Linked DNA regions of Homo sapiens: region 1 is linked to region 2. Evidence: promoter capture Hi-C in 16 types of primary human blood cells and fetal thymus (Javierre and others, 2016). All regions are on one chromosome and are shown on one strand. Each heading gives the region's core, a stretch centred on a gene start or on the middle of the fragment in contact. The rest is flanking DNA. Distances are from core to core; before and after follow the strand shown.

What was found. The method cuts DNA at HindIII sites, captures the fragments that hold promoters and counts their contacts. A CHiCAGO score of 5 or more calls a contact.
Region 1: a fragment that was not itself captured here is called in contact with the fragment with the promoter of TYMS in region 2 in 1 of 17 cell types (activated CD4 T cells); the score reaches 5.2 in activated CD4 T cells.

The regions. Positions count from the first base shown.
Region 1 is chr18:856,340-862,248 of GRCh38, forward strand. It overlaps the pseudogene LOC441806. Among named protein-coding and RNA genes, the nearest start is that of ADCYAP1, 46 kb to the right of the region's middle. The HindIII fragment of the contact is 3,194 bases long and covers 1-3,085 here.
Region 2 is chr18:653,207-658,902 of GRCh38, forward strand. It overlaps TYMS (thymidylate synthetase), which reads left to right and starts at 4,447. Exons shown (of 7, transcript NM_001071.4): 1 at 4,447-4,741. The coding sequence starts at 4,537. TYMSOS (TYMS opposite strand RNA) reads right to left here and starts at 5,085. Exons shown (of 2, transcript NR_171001.1): 1 at 4,636-5,085. RefSeq lists enhancers at 4,171-4,672, 4,673-5,172, 5,040-5,159 and silencers at 4,410-4,589, 4,760-4,809. The HindIII fragment of the contact is 8,200 bases long and covers 1-5,696 here.

The DNA of each region.
Region 1 (5,909 bases), core at 239-2,738, 200 kb after region 2:
GTGGTTTTCTGCCCTGTGGTCCTCTCTCCAACATGGCAGTTGCTCCTGTGAGGCCAGTGGAAGAATCTCTCTTATACTCTGAATCTCTCCTTCAGGATGGGCCCAGGGACTTTGAAGAGCTCATCCGATTAGGTCAGGCCCATCCAGGATAATTTTCCTTTCGATTGATTGAAAGTCAGCTGCTAAGAGCTACCCAAGTCAGCCTACATGCACCAGCTCTTGGGCCTCAACCTCCTCTTCCTGCTGTCCCAGGATTAGGTGGCTGAGTTCCACATGGAGTTGGAGTGGCTGCCTGCCACGGACACACAGACCAATGCCTACATCAAGCGCCCTGTGTCCCTGGAGCCATACCTGATGGAGGGCGGCTACAACAAGGTGTTCCTGGCCAAGGGTAACATCCCTGCCAAGAGCTACACCTTCATCCACATCCTGCTTGACACTATCAGGGATGAGATGGCTGGGTGCATTGAGAAGGCCTATGAGAAAATCCTTTTCACCAAGGCCACCTGGATCCTCTTCCTCAACACACCCAAACAGATGATGGACAACACCAAGAAGTGAGGGTGGGTCCTGGGCCCCAACAACTACTACAGTTTTGCCAGCCAGCAGCAGAAGCTGGAAGACACCACCATTCCAAGTTGAGTATGCCTGGCAGCCCACCAGGCACTGGGTGGGGCAGGGCATACGTTATTTAAAACAGTTACAGTGCAGGGTTTCCTCTAATAAAGGTGGATTGACATTCTGTCTTCCAGGCCCTTATCTCCCCATTTGGAATGGTGAGGAGCCAAGTTCTTATATCTGAGATAGATAAGTTTTGGGGCCCTCAGGGGATGGAGATAACACCCTCCAACTGGGTCAGCCTCTGTCTGATGGCCATTGCTCAGGGTCTCAAACACAGATGGCCACCGTAGAGCCCCAGCAGCACTGTGGCCTACAGGAGAGCATGGCCCCAGGTAGGGGGATGTTCCAGCCAGCTGTGGACACACAGGAATGCTGGGCCAGGGTACCAGATATTTTTCAACAAAGGGGGTGAAGTGTCCCATTAAAAAAAAGTTGGCAATGAATTAAGCAATTTTTCAAATAATAATAATAATAATAATAATAATAATAATAATAATAAACACAGGCCAGACATGGTGGCTCACGCCCATAACCCCAGCACTTTGTGGGGTGGAGGCAGGCTGATGACCTGAGGTCAGGAGTTTGAGACCAGCCTGGCCGACATGGCGAAACCTCGTCTCTACTAAAAATACAAAAATTAGCTGGGCTTGGTGGCGGTTGCCTGTAATTCCAGCTACTCAGGAGGCTGAGGCAGGAGAATCACTCGAACTCGGGAGGTGGAGGTTGCAGTGAGCTGAGATTGCACCATTGAATTCCAGCCTGGGTGACAAGAGCAAGACTCCATCTCAAAAAACCCCCCAAAACCCCCCAAAAACACATACACACAACAAAGTCAGCTGCTAAGGGGCATTAATTACATCTGCAAAATCCCACTGGTCACAGGATGTCACATAATCACGAGAGCAACTGTCCCATCATAGGCTCAAGTCACAGTCACGCTCAGGGGGTGAGGGTGAGACGGAGCCTGTATACCAGGGAGCAGGAATCTTGGGGGACATCTTAGAATTCCACCTCCTACAGTAACATTTCTCCTCACCATGAACCCACAACAGGTTTTCTGTCTATTCCATAAATACATTTGTGGTTAGAATTTGAGGAATTTCATACAAAACTGTCTGGTCGGTTCCCCCTGGGTCTTTTGGAAAAGAGTAGGCTTGAAGAGAATGGAGGGCAAGAGTGAGATTATTCAGGAAGGAACCCCCAGAGAAGCCACAGAGGATCAGGATAGAGCCAAGGAGTGCTGAGCCTTCCTCTTGGGTTGGGTGTGAGGCTGAAGCCAAAAATATAGCTCGTGTCAGACTTTTGGCTGCTCTATTCATTACACAGAAGAATAACATTTCATTAGCTGTTGTCATTCAAAGTGGAATATATCTTCATTCTCTTTAGGGTTTTTGGCAGTTAGATTTCTGAGTTACTTCATAAAAATTTAAATTAGCTATTTTTAATGATAACTGGTAGAAGAAGATAAATCATCATTCACAGAATTTTTAATGGGAAAAGTAATTTCAGTATTCTTATGGGGGAAGCACTTTTGGGCAAAAGTTATTCCTACAGCCCTCATGTTATTACTTCAAACATGAACCTGGGTTAGAAGAAGAAAGATTTGCTGCTGAGTTTTGTGTTTGGAATTGGTGTACCTGAAGCATGGGAAGTGTCCAATTTATGTGTGTGTGTTTGAGATGGAGTTTCACTCTTGTCGCCCAGACTGGAGTGCAGTGGTGCAATCTCAGTTCACTGCAACCTCTGCCTCCCAGGTTCAAGTGATTCTCCTGCCTCAGCCTCCTGAGTAGCTAGGATTACAGGCATGTGCCACCAACACCGGGCTAATTTTGTATTTTTAGTAGAGATCGGGTTTCACCATCTTGGCCAGGCTGATCTCGAACTCCTGACCTTAGGCGACCCACCCGCCTCGGCCTCCCAAAGTGCTGGGATTACAGGCATGAGCCACTGCGCCCAGCCCGATTTATTTGTAATACAATAAATCATGCATTATATTAACCTTTTTGGTGATTCATTTTCTCATTTATTAATTTAATGCATCCATTGTTTTCAAAGTGAGGCTTAATATTGTAAGTAATACAGTGGTAGTAGAATGGGGCAAGCCTATTCATCTTGGGTTAAGTGAGAACACCTTCATTTTCATAATGTAGAGCATTATCCTTTTCTATGGAGATTAAGCTAAATGCCAGGCTTCCTGTATTCACCCAGAATACTCAGCAGGCTGGTTTGTAAAAGAGGAGATATTTTGAGTTTGGCTGAAAGTAGCAATTTATTAATAAATCAATTTTTATCTTTTTAAAAATAGAGACAGGGTCTTGCTATGTTGCCCAGACTGGTCTCGAACTCCTGGTCTCAAGCGATCCTCCCACCTCGGTCTCCCAAAGTGCTGGAATTACATGTGTGAGCCACCACATCCAGCCTGAAAGTAGCAATTTAGGAAAAAAACAAACAAACAAACTTAGGAAGCTTTTAGTGACTGAGAAAATGAGTTGGTTTCATGCTTCTGGGAATTTATAAATGAACTAACTGAAAATGGAAACAGTGGTTATAAAGATTGTCAATAAAAAAGAAAATGAACTATTGTCTTTGAGAACTTAGAAAGTTTTCTGCGTCTTTGTAGCCAGGAGGAAAAAAAAAAAGAACGTAGAGGCTGAGAGTGGTGGCTCATGCCTGTAATCCCAGTACCTTGGGAGGCCAAGGCAGGCGGATCATGAGGTCAGGAGCTCGAGACCAGCCTGGCCAACACAGTGAAACCCCATCTGTATTAAAAATACAAAAATTAGCTGGATATGGTGGCACGCACCTGTAGTCCCAGCTACTTGGGAAACTGATGCGGGAAAATTGCTTGAACCCGGGAGGCGGAGGTTGCAGTGAGCCAAGACCACACCACTGCACTCCAGCCTGGGTGACAGAGTGAGATTCTGTCTCAAAAAAACAAAAAACAAAAAACAAAAAACTTAGAAACTCATTTTGATAATATATATGTTGTATGTGTAATAATAAATATGTTTCATCTTTTATTCTAATAACTGTCTAAGTGTAGAACTAACTGTAAATAACATACCTGGCTTTTATGAAAAATAAAATACATCAATAAGTTCTAAAAGAAAGGAAAACATGCTTGCCATTGGACCTTATGATATCATAATATCGCCTAATGCACATATGTTGAAAATGCAGTCTTTTACTGACATTCCATCTTAAAAACAAATCATAGAGGATTCATTTCTGGAGGGATTAAACATAGTTTGATTAGGTTTCACCTCAACAGAGGAATCGTATGTGGATACTTCCAGGATTCATGTCTTTGAAACGTTTGGAAAACTGAGGGTTAGTTTGTTCTAGTTTGTTGGGTGGGCGGGGGTGGGGGTGGTGGTGGGGGCACAGCTCTGGCAGATTGCTGCTCACTGCCAGCAGATCAGATTTTTTTTTTTTTTTTTTTTGAGACAAGGTCTCACTCTGTTGCCCAGGCTGGAGTGCAGTGGTGAGATCTTGGCTCACTGCAGCCTCGGCCTCCTTGAGCTCAAGCAATCCTTCCACTTTAGACTCCCAAGTAGCTAGGATTACAGGCATGCGCCACCACACCCAGCTAATTTTTGTATTTTTTGTAGAGACGGGGTCTTGTTTTTCTGTTCAGGCTGGTCTTGAACTCCGCGACTCAAGTGATCCACCTGCCTCGACCTCCCAAAGTGCTGGGATTACAGGGGTGAGCCACCTCGTCTGGCCTCTCATTTTAATAGAAGCAGGAAATCTGGGCTTTGTTTTGTATAAGACGTTTTGATTTTTAAATGTTGGCTCAATTTTTATTAAAAGTGTTGCTTGCTGGGCCCCAGGGAAGTCTGTGCGTGGCCCACTTTGGGCTAGATGGAGAGAGCTGTAGTGGAGGCCTTGACACTGATGTGAAATAGAAAGAGGGTGGATCTGGGTAGCTGTGCCCCTGACCTGTCTGGTCCCATGTAGGGAAGTCTCTTCATCTTCTGAATCCCGACTTCCATTATTCAGGAGGGGTTCTGATGACATTGTCTTGAAAACACCCTCCTCTGTAATGCTCACCCTGTGAAGAATTATTTTTTTTCTATTTTGTATGAGAGACATACTATTCAATATGTGTATGTGTGTGTGTATGTGCACGTGTGTTGAGAGACAGGGTTTCCCTCTGTTGCCCAGGCTGGATTGCAGATGCCTGGTTAATTTTTTAAATTCTGTAGAGACTGAGTCTTGTGATGCTGTCTAGGCTGGTCTCAAACTCCTAGCCTCAAGTGATCCTCCCATCTCGGCCTCCCAAAGTGCTGGGATTACAGGTGTGAGCCACTGCACCTGGCTCAATGTATTTTTTGATGAATCTTTTATTTGATATGTGAATCTCATGAGTTACGTGACTTCTAACATTTTTCTTATGCCCATTTTTTTTTCACGTAGACGTTCTCAGAGCGGTAGCATGCTCTGGATGAGCTGTAGCTTCTTAGTCTTTTGTTTTGACAATTTTCTAATAAGCTACTAGTTGTAGCTTGTTACTCTTTTGTTTTGACAATTTTAAGGATTCATTTCTCATTGTCCAAGAAATAAAGTCCATATAATGTATACAAAGAGAATTAGCATTGCAATTATTTTCTCTCCCCTCTTCCTTTTCATTTTGTGTAGAATGAACTCTTAGGCCATCACCAGGCAGCAGGAAATGAAGCTCAAGTTAGCAGAATGTAGGGAATTTTAGCTTTTCAGGCAGTCAGTGTGGTAAATTCAGTCCCGGTTTCGACTTCACTTGGAACTGTGTACAAATTCTAAAAATTCTAGGGCTAACTGTAGTAATTCTAGTTTTGCAGGTTAGGCTGCAGAATTTGATTTTATTAAGTTCCTGGAATTATTTTTGAACAAGCTGGGGTTGTGATGCCATTTATAAGTGTAATACCATTTCAAAACAACACTCAGGTGTAAGAAAAACAATATGAAACAGGCAGCCTCATTGTAAGATTCCATTCAGTATTGCTAATCTTTTGTCAAAGTCTGCCTACTTTACATATTTGTGGTGAAAAGTTATCCTTGGCAACCAGGATCATTGGTTTGCTATATAAAAGGAGACCCCGGACTGTTCTATTTTTATTTTTATATAATTTTTTCTTTTTCTTTTTTTTATCAGACAAAGGTTAAAGCGTGACCCAGACTGTTCTAACACCTAAAGATTCAGCTGCTTGACCCTGAGTTTGCTTTTCGTTCCCAATGATAATAAGGACACAGATGGCAAGACACAACAGCGAAAGTGTAAGGGCCGCAGCATTTGAATAAAAAGGTGG
Region 2 (5,696 bases), core at 3,197-5,696:
ATTTTCTCCCTAAACTCTTATTTCAATCTACATTCCTAAGAATTTTATCCTAATGTAGTATATTTTTATGCTTAAATATCTTTTGTTGATCAACACAATTTTGATCATTTTTAAATTTTAAAAATTAAGAACATCCTGTGACATCAAATTCTAGGTATGAAATATTTATTCTAGATTGGGTGATCATTATAATTATTTTTTGTACATAATTGATCAAAATAACATAAATATACTACAAATTTCTATGACTACTAAACATATAAAAGTAAAATTTTAAACAAATATATCTCTTAATGAGAAGGAAGAGCTTTTTATACTCCAATAAGTTAACGTATCCACTAATAATTATTATTTCTTCCTAGAACAAGACAGGATTAAGCATCATGACCGTCCCTATTGGGGGATGTTTTTATAGATGCAAGCACTGTGGCACCTACTGGTATAAATGCACCTGCTGATTGGAATGTTCTTTCCCCAGATCTTCCCCTGCTGGTTTCTTCCCAGTATTCAGGTCTCAGCTCAAATGTGACTTCCTCAATGAGGCCTCCTGGTGATCAGATCTAAAGCACCCTCTACACAATCACTGTTTAGTGCTATACCCATTAATTTACTATCATCACACTTGTCACTATCTGCAGATGTCTTGTTTGGTTACTTTTGTAGTGTTTGTCACTGCCAGAATATCAGTTCTATGAAGAAAAGGGCCTTGTCTGTCTTGCTGTTTGTAGACATGAGGAAGGCACCATGATATAAATGTGTGTTAATGAATGAATGAATGAAATTTGTCTGAGAGAACCATTCATTCTAACCAACATTTATGGAGTAACTACTTTGAAAAGAACCATTCTGTCTTTACTATCAAGCCAAGATACTCAAGGAAGGCAGCAGAAGTGGAAGCTCCATGTGGGCAGAGGAGCCTAGTCTTGAGATGTGATTTAGCTGGTATTTGGGTGAAACAAATAAACCAGCCTCAAAATAACACAAGGGGCCGGGTGCAGTGGCTCACGCCTGTATCCCAGCACTTTGGGAGGCTCGAGGCAGGCAGATTACTTCAGGTGAGGAGTTCGAGACCAGCCTGGCTAACATGGTGAACCTCCATCTCTACTAAAAATACAAAAACTAGCTGGGCATGGTGATGGGTGCCTGTAATCCCAGTTACTCGGGAGGCTGAGGCAGGAGAATTGCTTGAGCCTGGGAGGCAGAGGTTGCAGTGAGCTGAGATTCTGCCACTGCACTCCAGCCTGGGTGACAGAGCGAGACTCCGTCGAAAAGAAAAAAAGAAAGAAAGAAAAAAAACACACAAGGATGTGCAACTGATGCAGGGCAGGTGAGCCCAGAATTGGGCTTAGCTCAGGAGGGTTCTTGGTTTTGCTCAGGAAAGAATTTAAGAGCTACCTGGTAGAAGAAAAGCTCTACTGATATGGCAACAGCTCCCTGAGTGCCCCTGTAGAGCAGAGCTACCCTATAGGCAGTGTGCTGACAGCAGTAGCTTAAAGGCAGGTCTGCAGTGATATTTATAACCTACTTTCAATTACATGCAAATTAAGGGGCAGATTATGCAGAAATGTCTAGAAAAAGGGTGGTAACTTCCGGTTGTCGGCTCACTGCCATGGAAAGGGGCAGTAAGCTCTGGATGTTGCCATGACAATCGTAAACTGACATGGCACACTGGTGGGCACGTCTTATGGAAAACTACTTCTGCCCCATCCTTGTTTTGACTACTCCTCAATTTGGTCCCATGTCAGAGCCCTGCCTCCAGAGTCAAGCCCTGTCTACCTCACAATTATTATGTATCAGGTTTTTAAAAAATAACACAAGTAAGGCTGGGCATGGTGGCTCACGCCTTTAATCCCAGCACTTTGGGAGGCCGAGGTGGGCAGATCACTTCAGATCAGAAGTCTGAGACAAGCCTGACCAACATGGTGAAACCCTGTCTCTCCTAAAAATGCAAAAAAAAAAAAAAAGAAAAAAAAATTAGCTGGGCATGGTGGCAGGCGCCTATAGTTCCAGCTACTTGGGAGGCTGAGGCAGAATTGCTTGAACCCATGCAGCGGAGTTTGCAGTGAGCTGAGCACCACTGCACTGCAGCCTGAGGGACAGAGCAAGATTCCACCTCAAAAAAAAAAAAAAAAAAAAAAAAGGAAAAAGAATAACACAAGGAAATTAAACACAGATAACGTGCATCTGGATAATCTGGAATATTTTCAGCCTGGGATCTTCCTCGTGCTCGGAAACGTGTAGGGAAACGTGTAGGGACAGTTTTCAGCTGGTGTGGGGTGGGGGAATGCCAACATATGGTTGGCTTTCCACAGTCCTGCTAAAGCCCTGCAATGTGCAGAACAAACCGGTCCAGCTAAGAAAAGTCCCACCCAAAATGCTGAGAGCACCTCTGTACTCAATCAACCGTTGAGGTAAAAGGATGCTTGCAAGTACAACACATGTATCAGTGCATTTTAAACTCATTATAAAATCGTTCTGTAAACCAAAAATAAAATTCTACGCCCAGAACCATCTGAAAAGACCACTCCTCTGGGTCAAAGGCATTCCAAATTTAACCACAAAAACTAGTTCAGGCCATGATGGGAAGGGGAGCCAGACATGCCTCATTATTCCCTCCTCCGTTTGGAATTTAGGCACAGCTGACCAGCATTGACATCAACACAGGCCTCAAGACAGGTAGAACACACTCTTTAAGTCTGACAAGAAACATTTACAATCTATCTCTCTAAAGCCTGCTACCTGGAGGTTTAATCTGCATGATGAATCCATGGTCTCCACAACCCCTTATCTTAACCCAGATATTCCTTTCTATTCATTCAAATCTTTTTTTTTTTTTTCCCCATACGGCTCTGTCACCCAGACTGGAGTGCAGTGGCGCTTTCTCAGCTACTGCAAGCAACCTCCGCCTCCTGGGTTCAAGCGATTCTCCTACCTCAGCCTCCTGAGTACCTGGGGTTACAGGCGTGTGCCACCTCGCCCCACTAATTTTTGTATTTTCAGTAGAGAGGGTTTCACTATGTTGGCCAGGATGGTCTCAATCTCCTGACCTCGTGATCTGCCCGCCTCGACCTCCCAAGTGCTGGGATTACAGGCGTGAGCCACCGCGCCCAGCCCTCTATTGATTCCAGATCTTTAGATAACAATTCTTTCAACCAAATGTATAAAAAATCAAGTTGTAGCCCAACCACCTTGGGGACATGTTCTCAGGATCTGCTGAGGGCTCTATCACCGGCCATTGGTCACTCATATTTGGCTCAGAATAAATTTCTTCAGATATTTTACAGAGTTTAACTCTTTTCATCAACAGTTCCCACTCCCCAGTGTTAATGTTATAAACAATTCAGTAAAACTGGGAAATGTGGTCTATTAAAAACTTGGGGCCGAGTGCGGTGGCTCACGCCTGTAATCCCAGCACTTTGGGAGGCCAATGTGGGTGGATCACCTGAGGTCAGGAGTTTGAGACCAGCCTGGCTAACATGGCGAAACCCCGTCTCTACTAAACATGAAAAAAAAAAATTAGCCGGGCGTGGTGGCGGCGCCTGTAGTCCCAGCTACGCGAGAGGCTGAGGCAGCAGAATTGCTTGAACCCAGGAGGCGGAGGTTGCAGTGAGCCGAGATCGCACCATTGCACTCCAGCCTGGGTGAGAGAGCGAGACTCTGTCTCAAAAAAAAAAAAAAAAGACCGCCAGGGCTCAAACAAAAAACCTCGGAAAAGCCCTGGCGGTCTTTTTTTTTTTTTTTTTTTTTTTTTTGGGACAGTCTTGCTCTGTCGCCCAGGCTGGAGTACAATGGTCGGATCTTGGCTCACTGCAACCTCTGCCTCCCAGGTTCAAGCAATTCTTCTGCCTCAGCCTCCCAAGTAGCCACCACGCCCAGCTAATTTTTGTACTTTTAGTAGAGACGGGGGTTTCACCATGTTGTCCAGGCTGGTCTTGAACTCCTGACCTCAGGTGATCCACCCGCCTCGGCCCCCCAAAGTACTAGGATTACAGGCGTGAGCCACCGCGTCCAGCGCCCTGGCGGTTTTTAATCAAGTAGAAAAGCTGCATTATACCACTTGCTTCGGTTGCTTCAGTGAGAACGAAGAAATGGAAATGCAAATCCCTTATTAGTTGTAGGAAACAGATCTCAAACAGCAGTTTTGTTGACAAGACCGCAGGAAAACGTGGGAACTGTGCTGCTGGCTTAGAGAAGGCGCGGTCGACCAGACGGTTCCCAAAGGGCGCAGTCCTTCCCAGCCACCGCACCTGCATCCAGGTTCCCGGGTTTCCTAAGACTCTCAGCTGTGGCCCTGGGCTCCGTTCTGTGCCACACCCGTGGCTCCTGCGTTTCCCCCTGGCGCACGCTCTCTAGAGCGGGGGCCGCCGCGACCCCGCCGAGCAGGAAGAGGCGGAGCGCGGGACGGCCGCGGGAAAAGGCGCGCGGAAGGGGTCCTGCCACCGCGCCACTTGGCCTGCCTCCGTCCCGCCGCGCCACTTGGCCTGCCTCCGTCCCGCCGCGCCACTTCGCCTGCCTCCGTCCCCCGCCCGCCGCGCCATGCCTGTGGCCGGCTCGGAGCTGCCGCGCCGGCCCTTGCCCCCCGCCGCACAGGAGCGGGACGCCGAGCCGCGTCCGCCGCACGGGGAGCTGCAGTACCTGGGGCAGATCCAACACATCCTCCGCTGCGGCGTCAGGAAGGACGACCGCACGGGCACCGGCACCCTGTCGGTATTCGGCATGCAGGCGCGCTACAGCCTGAGAGGTGACGCCGCGGGCCCCTGCGGGACGGGTGGCGGGAAGGAGGGAGGCGCGGCTGGGGAGAGCGCTCGGGAGCTGCCGGGCGCTGCGGACCCCGTTTAGTCCTAACCTCAATCCTGCGAGGGAGGGGACGCATCGTCCTCCTCGCCTTACAGACGCCGAAACGGAGGGTCCCATTAGGGACGTGACTGGCGCGGGCAACACACACAGCAGCGACAGCCGGGAGGTAAGCCGCGTCCCAGCGGCTCCGCGGCCGGGCTCGCAGTCGCCCCAGTGATGCCGTGGCCCCCGAGGCGGGCGTCATCGGGCAGCGTTTGCCCAGTGCTGGAGGGTTAGGGAGAGCTGCCTGGGCTTGACCGCGCGCCGGTCTCAAAGTCCTGGCTTTGGCCCCTCCTCCGTTTTCCCCTGTGGACCATTCCGCTTCGCAGCGTTTTCAAAAACTGGAGCGAAAGTGATGTGGGCGGGGCAAAGGCGGCGGGAAGAGGAGAGCACTGAAGCTGGCGCGGGAACTTGGTTTCCTGGTGGCCTCCCATCCAATCCCCACGAACCAGCTTTCCTCTTAAACCTTGAAAAGAGAAATTCGGGAGTTCGAGTATAAGTTCTTAGTCGTCCTTTCCTCTTTCCTTTCCGACAGGAGCACCCCAGGCAAAAAATGTCTCGCGGGTCATTGGCGCCAGGCTTTCAGGGGACAGTGGGGCGGGGCGGGGTGGGCACAGGACGTTAGGCAGCCGTTGGCCCTCCCTAAGGCCACACCGTCCTGCCGTCCTGGATCCTGCGCCAGCTGCGCGGGGGAGGGGACTCGAAGGTGTGTGAGCCAGGGGCTGACCTTGACCGCTCAGATAAATGGAGCGCAGCCTTGACACAGGGGTGGAGGTGGTTTTGAATGGGGAAACCCATTCGTGGTGAAGCAGATTCACTGTAGCTAGCGGAAAAGCCCTCCGGCCCACGGACCCATCTAG